Regions from separate parts of the Homo sapiens genome. Here region 2 is linked to region 1. The links are contacts of gene promoters, found by promoter capture Hi-C in human tissues and cell types (Jung and others, 2019). All regions are on one chromosome and are shown on one strand. Each heading gives the region's core, a stretch centred on a gene start or on the middle of the fragment in contact. The rest is flanking DNA. Distances are from core to core; before and after follow the strand shown. Region 1 holds the start of DOCK6 (dedicator of cytokinesis 6). Region 2 overlaps PRKCSH (PRKCSH beta subunit of glucosidase II).

Region 1 (7,047 bases), core at 1,240-3,739:
CGGGTTAATCTGGTATTTGTGGAATAAATGACTGAATGGATGAACAGATGAATATAGGACCAGCTCTGAGTATGTAGACACCTGGGTGCCCAAGAGCGAAGTTGCTCTGGAAGCCCTGGGCCACTCCCTCACAGTTCACTAGGGCCCCAGGATCATTCTCTACTCTTACCCTGAGCTCTACAGTATCCAAAACCCCTCTTTCTCACTTGAGTAAAAACCAGGACCCAAGGACATACAGACCAAAATGCAAAGAAACAGACAGCAAGCTGGGCGCAATGGCTCACGCCTGTAATCCCAGCATTTGGGAGGCCGAGGCAGGAGGATCACTTGAGCCCAGGAGTTTGAGGCCAGCCTGGGCAAGATAGTGAGATCCCGTTTCTACAAAAGGTTAAAAAGTTAGCTGAGTGTTGCAGCATACACCTGTAGTCCCAGCTACTTGGGAGGCTGAGGCAGGAGGATCACTTGAGCCCGGGAGATTGAGACTGCAGTGAGCCAAGGTATCACCACTGCACTCCAGTCTGGGTGACAGAGCAAGACCCTGTCTCAAAAAAAGAAAAGGAAAAAAAAAAAAAGCCTGGGTGCAGTGGCTCACACCTGTAATCCCAGCACTTTGGGAGGTGGGCGGATCACCTGAGGTCAGGAGTTCGTGACCAGCCTGGTCAACATGGTGAAACCCCCTCTCTACTAAAAATACAAAAATTAGCTGGGTGTGGTAGTGGGCGCCTGTAACCCCAGCTACTCAGGAGGCTGAGGCACAAGAATCGCTTGAACCCAGGAGGCGAAGGTTGCAGTGAGCCAAGATTGTGCCATTGCACTCCAGTTTGGGTGACAGAGCGAGACTCTGTCTCAAAAAAAAAAAAAGAAAGAAAGAAAGAAAAGAAAAAGAAAAGGAAAGAAAAAGAAACAGACAGCAATAATGTTTGCAGCCTCAAAGACGCCAAAGGTCTAAGACATTTTGAAAGCCAATTTACAGACAAAGATAATGATAGAACATAAAAATTGCCCAGCCATTACGCCCCAGCCACCAAGTCTCATCCCTCCTCTGCTGAGAACTCCCCATGGCTCCCACCTCACCTGGGGTCCAAAGTCAAAGTCCCTTGCACAGCCCACACGACCCTGTACATTCTACTCTTACTGTCCCCCTCCAGCTCTCTGTTCCTGCCTCAGGGCCTTTGCACAAACCCTTCCCACTCTTTCCCCCCACAAACTGGCCTCGATCGATCCCTCTCTCATCTCCTTGAGGTTTTTGCTCAAAGGCACCTGCTCATCCAGGCCTTCCTGACCCACCTCCCGCATCTCAAGCAGCCCCCACCCTCCCATCCCCCTTCCCTGTCTTCTTGTCCCTACAGCACTTGTCACTGACAGGTAATCTACTCGATCAGGCTTCTGGTCTCTCTCCGCCACTATATCCCAAGAGGGGGATCTTTTGTCTCCATAAGACCAGGGCCCAACCCACAGGGCAGCTCTTTCACCTGGGGGCAGTCAGGACAGGTCCCCCGGGGAGAGGATACCTGAGCTTCTGAACGCACCCTTGTCGCAAAGACCCCCCGCCAACTGGGGGCGAGGCTTTTCAGCCCCAGAGAGTCTGATATACCCCTCCCAGGCTGTGACTCTCACAATCCCCAGTGGCCACGGAAATGGATCCCCCAGCGCCTGGGGCCTGTCCCCTCCCCCGTCTGCCCACCAGCTGGTTCTGTCCCCAGCCCCCACTCCCTCCATTCAATCACCCATCCATCCCCAGCGCGGTCCAGCCCGTGACGGGAGAGCCTGAAGCAGAAGGTGGGGGGGCGTCCACAGCTGTCCCCCTTCCCCCCCCCCGACAGCTGGGCACTGGACCCTGGAGGGGGAAGGGCACGGGAAACTCCTCGAGGGGTTTCAAACGCCACCAAGGAGCCCATCTCTGTCCCCAAATCTCAGAGCCTGGAGCCTCCCTGCCCCAAACCAGGCACTGAGGAAGGAACAGAAAGTCCGGCCCACCCCGATCTCCGAGAGCGCGGGGACAGTGAGGGGCCGAGAGGCGGACGGGGAGCGCAGGGAGTTCAGGGGGCGCCCGTCATCCGCATCCCCACGCCACCTCCTCCGGGAAGCCCTCCGGACACACCCCCGCGCGTCACGGAGGCAGAACGGCAGCCGCCATCGCGCTCCCAGCCCCGACGCGACTCCCATCTGGGACCCCCGCCGGGACCCCCGCGGCCCTCCCCGCCTTCTCCCGCTCCCAGCCCCGGCCGGAGGAAGCTGGCGGGACCCGGGCCGAGGCGGAAAGGGGTTGAATTGGGGGCGCCCGGGCGGGGAGGGTCGCACCGCCCCGGGGCGGAGCCGGGCCACGTGGGGGAGGTGGGAGGGGGCCCCGCGGCCACACTACCTGTTGATCTTGTGCGCGAAGGCGCGGCGCTCGGAGGCAGCCATGGTCCTCGCGTCCCGCCGCCGCCGCCCCGGGCCCCGGCCCCGCCGCCGCCGCCGCCTCCCGGTTCTGGGCAGCCGGGGCGGGGCGGGGCCGGCGCGGGGGCGGGGCCCTTCCGGGTGGCCCGGGCCGCTCCGTGCTGCCCCTGCAGGCCGGAGGGGTCGCCTGGAGTCCTGGGGGCTGGGGAAACTGAGGCTGGGGACGGAGAGGAGGCCCCGGGATCCAGGCTGGGCGGGCCCCAGACTCCCGGGCTGGGGGGACGCTCTTTCTACCCTAGGAGAAGGGCTGGGGAAACTGAGGCTGAGGAGGGAAGTTAGGGAGAGGAGGCGCTGGGACCCAGACTGGGGGTGCCCCAGACTCCCGAGCTGGCGGGGGCGCTCTTTCCACCCTGGGAGCTGGGCTGGAGAAACTGAGCCTGAGGAGGGAGGGAGGGAAGGGAGGCGCTGAGACCCGGGCTAGGTGGACCCCAGGCTCCCGGGGTTTAGTGGGGTGGTCTTACCACCCCAGGAGCAGGGCTGGGGAAACTGAAGCTCAGGAGGGAGGGAGGGAGGGGAGGCGCTGGGACCCAGGCTGGGTAGGCCCCAGATTTCCGGGGTTTGGGGGGCGCTCTTTCTGCCCTCTGACTCCTGGCTGGAAAACAATAACGATGTTCATGTATCTAATAATCATACCTGTAAGTATAATCGTGGCCGTGCATGGTGGCTCATGCCTGTAATCCCAGCACTGTGGGGGGCCAAGGCAGGAGGATTGTTTGAGCCCAGGAGTTGGAGACCAGCCTGGGCAACATAATGAGACCCCGTGTCCACAAAAAATGCAAAAATTAACCAGGCATGGTGGTGTGTGCCTGTAATCTCAGCTACTTGGGAGTCTGAGGGAGGAGGATCGCTTGAGCCTGGGAGGTCAAGGCTGCAGTGAGCTGTGATTGTGCCATTTCAATCCAGCCTGGGTGACAGAGCGAGACCCTGTCTCAAAAAGTCTAATTGCTAAGATGTCATTGAGCCTGGCCCTGCAATTCACACATGCAGAAGAAATTATTGTTTTCCTCCTTTTACAGATGAGTAAACTGAGGCACAGAGGTGTTCGGGTGCTTGCTCAGTGTGACTCACAGGGGTCTCCAGCGCCTGCATTGTCCGTGCTCCCAGTCTACAGCATGGGAGTCAGAGGAGCCTGGCTAGGCACTGGAGTGCTCGGAGATGTGCCCCAGGTCCAGGTGGTGGGACCTGAGTGAGCCAGTTTGGGAGTCTAGACTTTCGGGGCCGCCTCTACCAAGAGGAAGAGGTGGGGATGTCTTGGTTAATCTATGGTCTCAAATCTCTCCCCACTGGCCTCTCTCCCAGCACTGCTGCAGCATTTTTAGAGAATTCTCCAGCCGACACTCCCCTCTGGAGGAGCTCACCCCTTTCTCACCTGCATGCCTCTGCACCGGCAGGTCCTTCCTCCTGGACAGCCCTTCTTTCCCTGGTCAGCAAATGCCCCAGGGAGAATTTGAGGTTGAATCAGACAAGGCCGTGGCTCTGCCTCAGGGCCTTTGCACGTGCTGTTCTCATTCCCATCTATGGGTTGCTGGCATTTTATCCTCTATTATTTATTTATTTATTTATTTATTTATTTATTTATTTATTTATTTATTTTGAGGTGGCATTTCGCTCTTGTTGCCCAGACTGGAGTGCAATGGCACAATCTCGGCTCACCGCAACCTCTGCCTCCCAGGTTCAAGCGATTCTCCTGCCTCAGCCTCCCGAGTAGCTGGGATTACAGGCACCCACCATCACACCTGGCTAATTTTTTGTATTTTTAGTAGAGACGGGGTTTCACCATGTTGGCCAGGCTGGTCTGGAGCTCCTGACCTCAGGTGATCCACCCGCCTCGGCCTCCCAAAGTGCCGGGATTACAGGAATGAGCCACATGCCCACCCTGAGTCACCATGCACCCCCGAGACACAGTTTCTTGCCTTGCTGCCCAATGAATCCATGTCAGACCTTGAACCCACAGGAAAGAGGCCTGGATTGTAGGGGAACCCCCAAACCCTGCCAGTCAGACGCAGGATAGCATCCTGCTAGTCAGGCCGCAGTAGGGCTGCTCACAGCCTGGCATGTGACATGTGCACACAGCCCACGTGCCTGCCCGGAGTGGTCCAGCCACTTTGGCCAGGTGGAGCTCCGCCCATCACTCCCCGCCATGCCCCACCAAGTGTCCCCGCCTTGCCTCTCAGGCTGCTGGGAGCTAGGCTGGGCAGGAAATATGCAGATGAGCGAAGATTTGCACATTTCTTAGCCTAGTTCCAGTCCAGCCCCCTTTATATCCGGTCTCCCAGCTTCCTTTCTCATCCTCCCCCCAGCTTGTTCCTGCATCAGTGGCCAGGAAGAGCCTGGGAACACCTGCATCACTTCAGTTCCCTCCTCTGTTCAGAACCTTCCATGGCTCCCACCTCACTCAGGGTAAAAGCCAAAGTCCTCCCACAACCCGCCGGGCACAGTGGCTCCCTGTCATCCTGGCACTTTGGGAGGCCGAGGCGGGTGGATCACTTGAGGTCAGGAGCTCCAGACCAGCCTGGCCAACATGGCAAAACCCCGTCTCTACTAAAAATACAAAAAATAGCCGGGCATGGTGGTGGGAGCCTGAATCCCAGCTACTCGGGAGGCTGAGGCATGAGGATCGTCTGAACCCAGGAGGTGGAGGTTGTAGTGAGCTGAGATTGCGCCACTGCACTCTAGCCTGGGCGAGAGTGAGACCCTGTCTCAAAACAACAACAACAACAAAACAACCAACAAACAAAACCAAAGTCCTCCCACAACCCACAAGGCCCAGCATGATCAACCCTGTCACCTCCCTGGCTTGCCTCTTCCTTTTCTTTCCCTCATTCACTCCACTCCAGCTGCCCCTGCCTCCTGGATGCTTCTCTAAACACCAGGACACAGCTCCACTCAAGGACCTTTGCATGTTCTGTTCCCTTTCCCACATATGGGCGTTGCCAGTAGCCCCCTTTTACAGATAAGGAAACTGAAGAACACCCAGAGAGGGGACTCGCCCTAATGTAGCCTAGTGAATCAGTGTCAGATCCAAGATTTGACTCCAGGGAGCCTGATCCCAAAGCGGTTGTCTCTAAAGTCTCACTGGGTCTCCATCAGACCTGGCTGTGTGACCCAGGATAAATTGCTCAACTTCTCTGAGCCCCAGTTTCCTTGTTTGCTCCCTGAGAGTTCGTGGTTGGTCACAGCTTGAGACCCAGACATCAGGAGGTAGGTTGAGCCATGGAGCAGCAAACTTCAGGGCCTTGTCAGGGCCCATTCCCTGTCGAAGCCCAAGGGGGTTTTGAGCTCAGCGACTCCATGTCCTGCCTTGGTGGAAACGCTGCTTCAGAGATTGCTCCAATCAAAGGCCCTACCCCAGATGCCTCGAGCACAGTACCCGCCCCAGTGCCTGCCAGACCTGACTGGTGAGGCTATTTCTCTCCAGAGCACCACCAGCCCTGACTCAGCTGGGTGTGGCTGGGGTGCCCCTGACAGCTGATCAAACAGAGGCTGAGCGTGGTGGCGGGGACTTTGGCCTCCTCTGCTCTACTGCGTGGAGAACACGTTGCGGACATGAGGCTGGAGCTGGTGGACCAGGGAGGAGGGGCTGTACTGGTCCAGGTTAGGGATGATAGGCCTGGATGGGGTGAGGATACAGGGGAGGTGAGAAGTCGGTGGGCTCTGAGCAGATGGCTCACTGGTGGCTGGACAGTGAGTCCATCTGCAAGTTAGAGTAAGAGAGGAGTCAAAAACCGTCTCCTTCACCCACGCTGCTGCCTAATGCTGCTCCCTCCACGTGGAATGCTGTTCCATCCACTCCTCGTCTGCCTGCACCCTTCTTTGTCCCTTATATCTCAGCTTGGACATCCCTGCCTTTGCCCGCTGCCTCCGCCATGGAGGCCCCAGTCACGCCCCAGTTGCTGGGTTACCTTTCTCTGTGGGGTTCCCAGCACCTGACATTTAGTAGGAGCTCCATAAATACTGACTTTTTGGTTTTGCTCTTTTTTTTTTTTTTTTTTTTTGAGACAGGGTCTCACTCTGTTGTCCAGGCTGGAGTGCAGTGGCTCCAATATGGCTCACTGCAGCCTCCTCCTCCCAGGCTCAAGCAACCTTCATACCTCAGTCCCCAACTCTGGGACTACAGGCATGCACCACTATGGCCAGCTAATTTTTCTGATTTTTTTTGTAGAGACAGGGGTCTCACTATGTTGCCTAGGCTGGTCTCAAACTCTTGGCCTCAAGAGATGCTGCCAACTTGGCCTCCCACAGTGCTGGGATTACAGACGTGCCCTCTTTTGTTTTCCTGATCTGCTGCTCAGAGCTTGTCCCCGACCTCGCTGTTGGAATCACTGTAGCATCATAATATGCTTCTGTATCTTTCTGTGCTGGGTGCAGCTGCCTCCAGACCTTTGCACAGGCCATCCCCTCTGCCCAGAACATGGTTCCCGGACTCCTTACCTTAACAGACTTTTTTTTTTTGGAGACAGAGTTTTGCTCCTGTTGCCCAGGCTGGAGTGCAATGGCATGATCTCGGCTCACTGCAACCTCCGCCTCCCAGGTTCAAGCAATTCTCCTGCCTCAGCCTCCCAAGTAGCTGGGATTACAGGCATGCGACACCACGCTCGACTAATTTTG
Region 2 (7,047 bases), core at 1,657-4,156, 190 kb after region 1:
TGATCCCAAGCCCCGTGTGACCCCGCCTCTTACTCGTGGATGGCCAGGTCCAGGATGCCCTGGGCGAGGAGATAGGGGGACCACCCTCTCCCCAGGAGCTGGGCACAGACCCTCAGCCTCAGGGAGTGTGTCTAGGCATCTAGTGATCGGATGGCTTTTCCCAGCCCCACTACGCTCTGGGGAAAGCCAGACCTGGGTTCGAATCCTGGCTGTGCCTCTGAGCTTGCTGGGTTACCTGGTGGAGGGTGGACTTTTGGGGGCTGAGAGGCACACGGGGAGCCTAGGAGATGTCAGGTGCCAAGGAGCAGGGGGCTTCAGAGGGACCGAATGGGCAAGGGTGGGGGTGGGCTTTGCTGGGTGGGGGACCAAGGCAGATGGCAGCTTCAATGTGCCGGGTCCTGGGGTGGAAGGAGGTGCCACCTGGGTGAGTTGGTAGAGAGGTCATCGGACATTTGGGGGTCCAGGTATCTCCCAGTCCCACCCCTTACTTTGAGCTCCTTTGGGGTCATGGAGTCCTGAGGAGGGGGCAGGAGGGTGGGGAGGCCCCTACACCTTGAGGTCCTGAAGCAAGTTCCAGGGTGGGGCCCTGCAGGGAAGAACAGGTGGGCCACATGGTGCCCCCAACTGAGAGCCACTGGGGCCTCACCCCTCCAGTCTGCTTCTGCCACGCCCCCGCAGGGTCTCGGTGACTGAGCTGCAGACTCACCCGGAGCTGGACACAGATGGGGATGGGGCGTTGTCAGAAGCGGAAGCTCAGGTACCCCCGGCTGCCCCTTGGTTGGGGACTTCTAGGGAGCATTGCCCCAGGGTGACCTCAGGGCACAGGAGGGGGACCAAGGAAAGCTCCTTGCTGGCCTGGGATGCCTCCTCTGGGTGAGCTGGGATGGCAGCCACTCAGGGCCGCTTCCCGCCTGGCAGGACCCGGGATGGAGCCAGGTCGCGCTGGAGCCCGTTTCCCCGCACCTGCCCCCACTCTACCCGCTGTTGAGCACCCAATCCCCTTCCTCCCCCACCCCTGTCCTGCCCTATTCCCCTCCTCCCCCACACCCTCGTCCCCTGTCTGTCTCCTTTCCTATCCTCCTCCTTCCCCGTGGCCCCTGGCTTCTGGCCTCCCTTCTCTGCCCACCCCTGGGTTTCTCCCTCTCCATCTGCAGCCTGGGCCTTGGCCTCTCCCTTGGAGGGCCTGGCCCTCTCTGGTCCTGGGCTCTCTCTTCCTCCATCTGTACGTCCGTTTGTCCATCTGCTTCTCTCTTTCTGTCTCAGTGCCCCCAACCACTCCAGCCCCTGGTCTCCTCCTCCCCTCCCACGGGCCTGTGCTGCCCCCTCCTGGCCGCAGTGCCTCACTGGCGTGGCCCTGGCCTGGTCATCAGGGCCCGGGGCCCAGCCCTCCCGTGCCTGGCACCGCAGCCCGGGTGCCGGGGTGGCCGAGATGGGGGACACGTGGTGGCCTAGATCTTGACACCACCCCCAACACACACAGGCCCTCCTCAGTGGGGACACACAGACAGACGCCACCTCTTTCTACGACCGCGTCTGGGCCGCCATCAGGGACAAGTACCGGTCCGAGGTCAGTGGAGGAGAAGGGAGGGGACTTGGTCCTCCCACCACACTGCCCCCACCCCGCCTCACAAAGGAGCTGCCTCTGGTTCTGGCACCTGGCCACCCTGGCCAGCTGGGTGGCCCCAGCACCCCCCACCGAGACCCCCCGACCCCAGCTGTCGGTCCTCCCTGCAGGCCCCGCAGGAGGGGCAGAGACACCGAGGCTGCCCCTTGGGCTGTGGTGTGAGCCTGAGGGTGTGGGTGGACCCTGAGTCCACAACACCGACCGCACTGCTCACCCGCCAGGCACTGCCCACCGACCTTCCAGCACCTTCTGCCCCTGACTTGACGGAGCCCAAGGAGGAGCAGCCGCCAGTGCCCTCGTCGCCCACAGAGGAGGAGGAGGAGGAGGAGGAGGAGGAGGAAGAAGAGGCTGAAGAAGAGGAGGAGGAGGAGGATTCCGAGGTGCAGGGGGAGCAGCCCAAGGTCCGTGTTTGGGGGAGAAGTGGAGACAGAGAGGGTGGGGGAAGGGCTACTCACTGACCCTGCCCCTGCCCCAGGAGGCCCCACCGCCACTGTCACCCCCGCAGCCGGCCAGCCCTGCTGAGGAAGACAAAATGCCGCCCTACGACGAGCAGACGCAGGCCTTCATCGATGGTGAGGGTGGGCGGGGGCCAGGCTCCTCGGGTGGGCCCAGCGTTTCCTGCCGTGGTGGCACAGGTCGAGGGAAGATCCTGAGCTTAGACCCTGCTCTGACTCGGCCAGCACAAGCCCCAGTATCTTGGGGAGTCCAGGAAGGGGGCCTAGGGTAAGCCAGTCCCACCCTCGCCAGCCCCAAGGGGCCCTTCTGCCTCCCCAAGGGCCGCAGCTTGTTTGTGTCACTCCTGGCCCCACTCGCTCAGGAGCTGGGAGCCTGGGCAGCAAGTCGGGGCTGCTCTATAGCTGGTGAGGCCCTCAAGGCTGTCGGGGTGAAGTCCTTGGCCAGAGCAAAATGAGGGTATGGGAGCACACAGCCACATCCATGGAACCCCGTTCCCCATCCTCCTGGATGGGGTTGAGGACATCTCTGACCTCCAACCCCTCTCCCAGCTGCCCAGGAGGCCCGCAACAAGTTCGAGGAGGCCGAGCGGTCGCTGAAGGACATGGAGGAGTCCATCAGGTAGCGGGGGCTGAGGAGCGGGGACACCTGTCCCACAGCGACTGCTCCTTGACTCCCAGGGGAGCTGGTGATGGGGAATCACTGAGGCAACCACAGGCTGGGCCTGGTCCCTGCAGGGAGGGTCCCTGGGAGGTGGCAGGGAGGACAGCCTGGGCACCATTGCTCAGCCAGACCCTCCTGTGTCTGTCGTCCTGGGTCAGGCACTGGCGTCCCCAGCTGCCCCTTAACCGCTCCGCCTCCCCTTCCAGGAACCTGGAGCAAGAGATTTCTTTTGACTTTGGCCCCAACGGGGAGTTTGCTTACCTGTACAGCCAGTGCTACGAGCTCACCACCAACGAGTGCGTCCCAGGAATGCAGGGGCCCCCACTGGCAGGGTGGGAGGCGGGTGGCCCCGGAAGTGGCACCGGCAGTTTCCTGATGGTTGGGGAACCATCTGCGGGTGGGGCCCGAGAGTGCTGCCTTCCATATTGAGGGGGAGCAGAAGCCAGGGGCCAGGTTTAGGGTTGGTCATTGGAGTTGGAGGTACCCTGTGTGTGGGGACTGGAGGAGGCGGTGGGGGGTGGCTGTGGGAGGAGGCTGGAATCCCTGCGTTCCCCAACCCATATGTCCCGGTCCTCCACAGATACGTCTACCGCCTCTGCCCCTTCAAGCTTGTCTCGCAGAAACCCAAACTCGGGGGCTCTCCCACCAGCCTTGGGTGAGTGGCTTGGGCTGGCCCCTTCCCTCTGCCTCCTCCTGGTGCCCCGACACCGGCCCAGCCCTCAGCACCCTGTGTCTCTCACAGCACCTGGGGCTCATGGATTGGCCCCGACCACGACAAGTTCAGTGCCATGAAGTATGAGCAAGGCACGGGCTGCTGGCAGGGCCCCAACCGCTCCACCACCGTGAGTGCCTGCAAGGCAGGGGAGCTGGGGCGGGGAGACCCAGGCCTGGCCCAGCCGAACCCTCTCGAGCACCCGTCTGCCCATCCCCAGGTGCGCCTCCTGTGCGGGAAAGAGACCATGGTGACCAGCACCACAGAGCCCAGTCGCTGCGAGTACCTCATGGAGCTGATGACGCCAGCCGCCTGCCCGGAGCCACCGCCTGAAGCACCCACCGAAGACGACCATGACGAGCTCTAGCTGGATGGGCGCAGAGGTGGGCGGGGAGGTGGAGTCTCGTCGGCCTGCCCCAGCAAGGGGAGGCGGCGGGCCCTGAGGAAGATGGACCCACATGGCCACTCTATCAACCTGTGTCCCCATGTTCCCTGCTTTTTTGTTTTGTTTTTTTGAGGTGGAGTCTCACTCTTTGGCCCAGGCTGGAGTGCAGTGATGCGACCTCAGCTGACTGCAACCTCTACCTCCCGGGTTCAAACAATTGTCTTGTCTCAGCCTCCCAAGTAGCTGGGATTACAGGTGTGCACCACCATGCCTGGCTAATTTTTAGTAGAGATGGGGTTTCACCATGTTGGCCTGGATGGTCTCGAACTCCTGACCTCAGATGATCCACCTGCCTTGGCCTCCCAAAGTGCTGGGATTACAGGCATGAGCCACCACACCCGGCCATCTCCTGCCTTTTTTTTTTTGGATGGAGTTTCACTCTTGTTGCCGAGGCTGGAATGTGGAATGCAATGGCGCGATCTCGGCTCACTGCAACCTCCACCTCCTGGGTGCAAGCAATTCTCCTGCCTCAGCCTCCTGAGTAATTGGGACTACAGGCGCCGCCACCACGCCTGGCTAATTTTTTTGTATTTTTAGTAGAGATGGGGTTTCCCTGTGTTAACCAGGTTGGTCTCGATCTCCTGACCTCGTGATCCGCCCTCCTCAGCCTCCCAAAGTGCTGGGATTACAGGCTTGAGCTACCATGTCTGGCCATCCCCTGCTTTTTAAAAAAAGATTTTTTTACTTTTGAAACTAAATAGGCCAGGCGTCGTGGCTCACATCTGTAATCCCAGCACTTTGGGAGGCTGAGGTGGGCGGATCACTTGAGGTCAGGAGGTTGAGACCAGCCTGACCAACATGGTGTAAAACCCCATCTCTACTAAAAATACAAAAAAATTAGCTGGGTGTGGTGGTAGGTGCCTGTAGTTCCAGCTGCTCAAGAGGCTGAAGCACAAGAATCACTTGAACCCAGGAGGTAGAGGTTGGAGTGAGCCAAGATCATGCTACTGCACTCTCCAGCCTGGGCTACAGAGTGAGACTCTCAAAAAAAAAAAATAATAATAATAAGAGAAAATAGACAAGGTCTCCAGGCTGGTCAACTCCTGGCCTCAAATGATCCTCCCACCTCAGCCTCCCAAGCAGCCGGGACTACAGGCAAACATCACCATGTCCAGCTGTCCCCAGCTTTCTAATCTGGTCTTTCTCTTGCCCCAGAACCTCAAGAAGGCATGAAGCCAGCCCCTGCAGTGCCGTCCACCCGCCCCTCTGGGCCTGCCTGTGGCTCTGTTGCCCTCCTCTGTGGCGGCAGGACCTTTGTGGGGCTTCGTGCCCTGCTCTGGGGCCCAGGCGGGGCTGGTCCACATTCCCAGGCCCCAACAGCCTTCAAAGATGGGTAAAGGAGCTTGCCCTCCCTGGGCCCCCCACCTTGGTGACTCGCCCCACCACCCCCAGCCCTGTCCCTGCCACCCCTCCTAGTGGGGACTAGTGAATGACTTGACCTGTGACCTCAATACAATAAATGTGATCCCCCACCCAAACTTGTCTGTGTCTGCCTCGCTTTGCTGGGGTGTGGACCGGGGTGTGGGCAGGGGTTGAGCGCAGGGGACGCAGCTTTCTGCAGATCCCACCCGGGCCTCCCCCACCATCTGGGGATCACTCCTGAAGATACCAGGTGGATGGACCCTGGACCATTTCTGTCTTGAGCATCCATCCGGGCCCGTGTCCCACCTTCCCTGGGTCTCATCTGTGCTCTGTGGAGGCCAAGGGTTCCCTCCCGGGGCCAAAGCCCCTGCTGCAGACAGACCCAGGCCCAGAGAAGGACGGGGGCCTGGGCGCTACTACACAGGCTGCTCCTGCGTGCTCCCCGCGCAGCGGTGCAGAGATCACCCAAGGCCTTAAGATTCTGAACTTTTATTTTCTGGCATGAAAAGTACAAATAATTAAACAATTCCATGTAAAAGTCTGTTACCGCGGCCAGGCCTGTGATCCCGGTAATAAATAGTCTAAACGCAACGCGAAGTGTTCTTGTTGGGTTTTTTTTTTTTTTTTGTCTTTTGTTTTGTCTTTTTTTTTTTTTTTTTTTTTACAGTTTTTTATCACCTCCAACATGGACTCTGTCGTGATTTGAAACCTTCCGAATAAATAACAGGATGAAGGGAGGGGTGGAGGGGCTGAGCCCCCTCCCCCCTGGCCTGGCCCCTGCCCCCCAGGGACGTGGAAGCCCCAAGTCCCCCTCGCCTGGGAGCCCCGGCCTGGCCCCCTGCGGGGAGGGGCTGGCCTCCAGGGAGGGGGCCTGGCTGGGCTGAGTTTTGTGTTTTAGAAAAAGAAGTCCCCTCCCAGTCTTGGGGGTGGCAGGGGCCTAGGCCTCGGTGGGGGGGGGGTGTGTGGGGAGGTGCCCCCTCTCTGGAGCCTGGCCCCCCCCAGGGTGGGGGACAAACCCAGCCCTTATTGCTCGGACGCCCTGCTGCAAGCTTCCCACGCGGACGTGCGTGTTCCCGAATGCAGAGGGCGGAGGGGAGAGAGCCCCAAGAGACAGCAGGGGAGAGGGGTCCCTGCCCTGCTGCAGGGGAGAGGAGAGAGGGCAGGGAGGACTTAAAACCACGAGAATAAATAGGTTCGTGTATCAAGAACAAGCTAGGGATTTCACCAGCTAAATAGGACTGAAAAAATTCTCAAGACAAGAGCAAAAAGAATCCCATTGGTGACCTGGACGTCGCTGGCCGTGGGGACTGTCCCGCAGAGCACACGCCCCCGCGTGCCACTCGGCTACCATTACTGTTATTAATAATTATTATTACTTTAATGATTCCACTTCCCCTTTTATAAATAAATTAGGCATAACCATGTCTCGGCAAAACTTAAAGAAACAAAGAGAACATTGTCGTTCCTTTAACTTGCAAACCGGATGAAGTAACAGAAATATACACGGATGTCCTTACAGGGCAACGAGGAGAATAAATAGTTAACATAGCAATAAGTTAAAACTACAAGAAGCTAAATTCAGCAAAAAAGTACAAGAAAGTTAACTGGTGCCAGTTTATGTCTTTTTTTTTTTTCCTTTTTTTTTTTTAAATCTCTTCTGTGTGTTTTCTTTTTTTGTTGCTTTTTTTTCCTCTTCTGTTTGTGTTTTTTTGTCGCTTTTTTGATTTTTTTCTTTTTTGTTCCTTGCAGCAGAAGCTCCACAGACGTTTAATAACAACACCGGGAGGG

Evidence for each region. The method cuts DNA at HindIII sites, captures the fragments that hold promoters and counts their contacts. A contact is called where the count stands out against the background at its distance.
Region 2: a fragment that was not itself captured here is called in contact with the fragment with the promoter of DOCK6 in region 1 in 1 of the 25 tissues and cell types used here (spleen).

What each region holds. Positions count from the first base shown.
Region 1 is chr19:11,260,035-11,267,081 of GRCh38, forward strand. DOCK6 (dedicator of cytokinesis 6) reads right to left here and starts at 2,490. Exons shown (of 48, transcript NM_020812.4): 1 at 2,363-2,490. The coding sequence starts at 2,406. RefSeq lists silencers at 2,065-2,204, 2,285-2,344, 2,415-2,574. The HindIII fragment of the contact is 27,433 bases long and covers 1-7,047 here.
Region 2 is chr19:11,445,594-11,452,640 of GRCh38, forward strand. It overlaps PRKCSH (PRKCSH beta subunit of glucosidase II), which reads left to right. Exons shown (of 18, transcript NM_001289104.2): 9 at 679-757; 10 at 1,481-1,567; 11 at 1,846-2,025; 12 at 2,100-2,196; 13 at 2,629-2,698; 14 at 2,947-3,036; 15 at 3,321-3,395; 16 at 3,483-3,582; 17 at 3,673-3,835; 18 at 5,053-5,375. The coding sequence ends at 3,819. ELAVL3 (ELAV like RNA binding protein 3) reads right to left here. Exons shown (of 7, transcript NM_001420.4): 7 at 5,733-7,047. Among named protein-coding and RNA genes, the nearest start is that of PRKCSH, 13 kb to the left of the region's middle. RefSeq lists enhancers at 6,519-6,568, 6,599-6,718, 6,643-7,047. The HindIII fragment of the contact is 3,843 bases long and covers 986-4,828 here.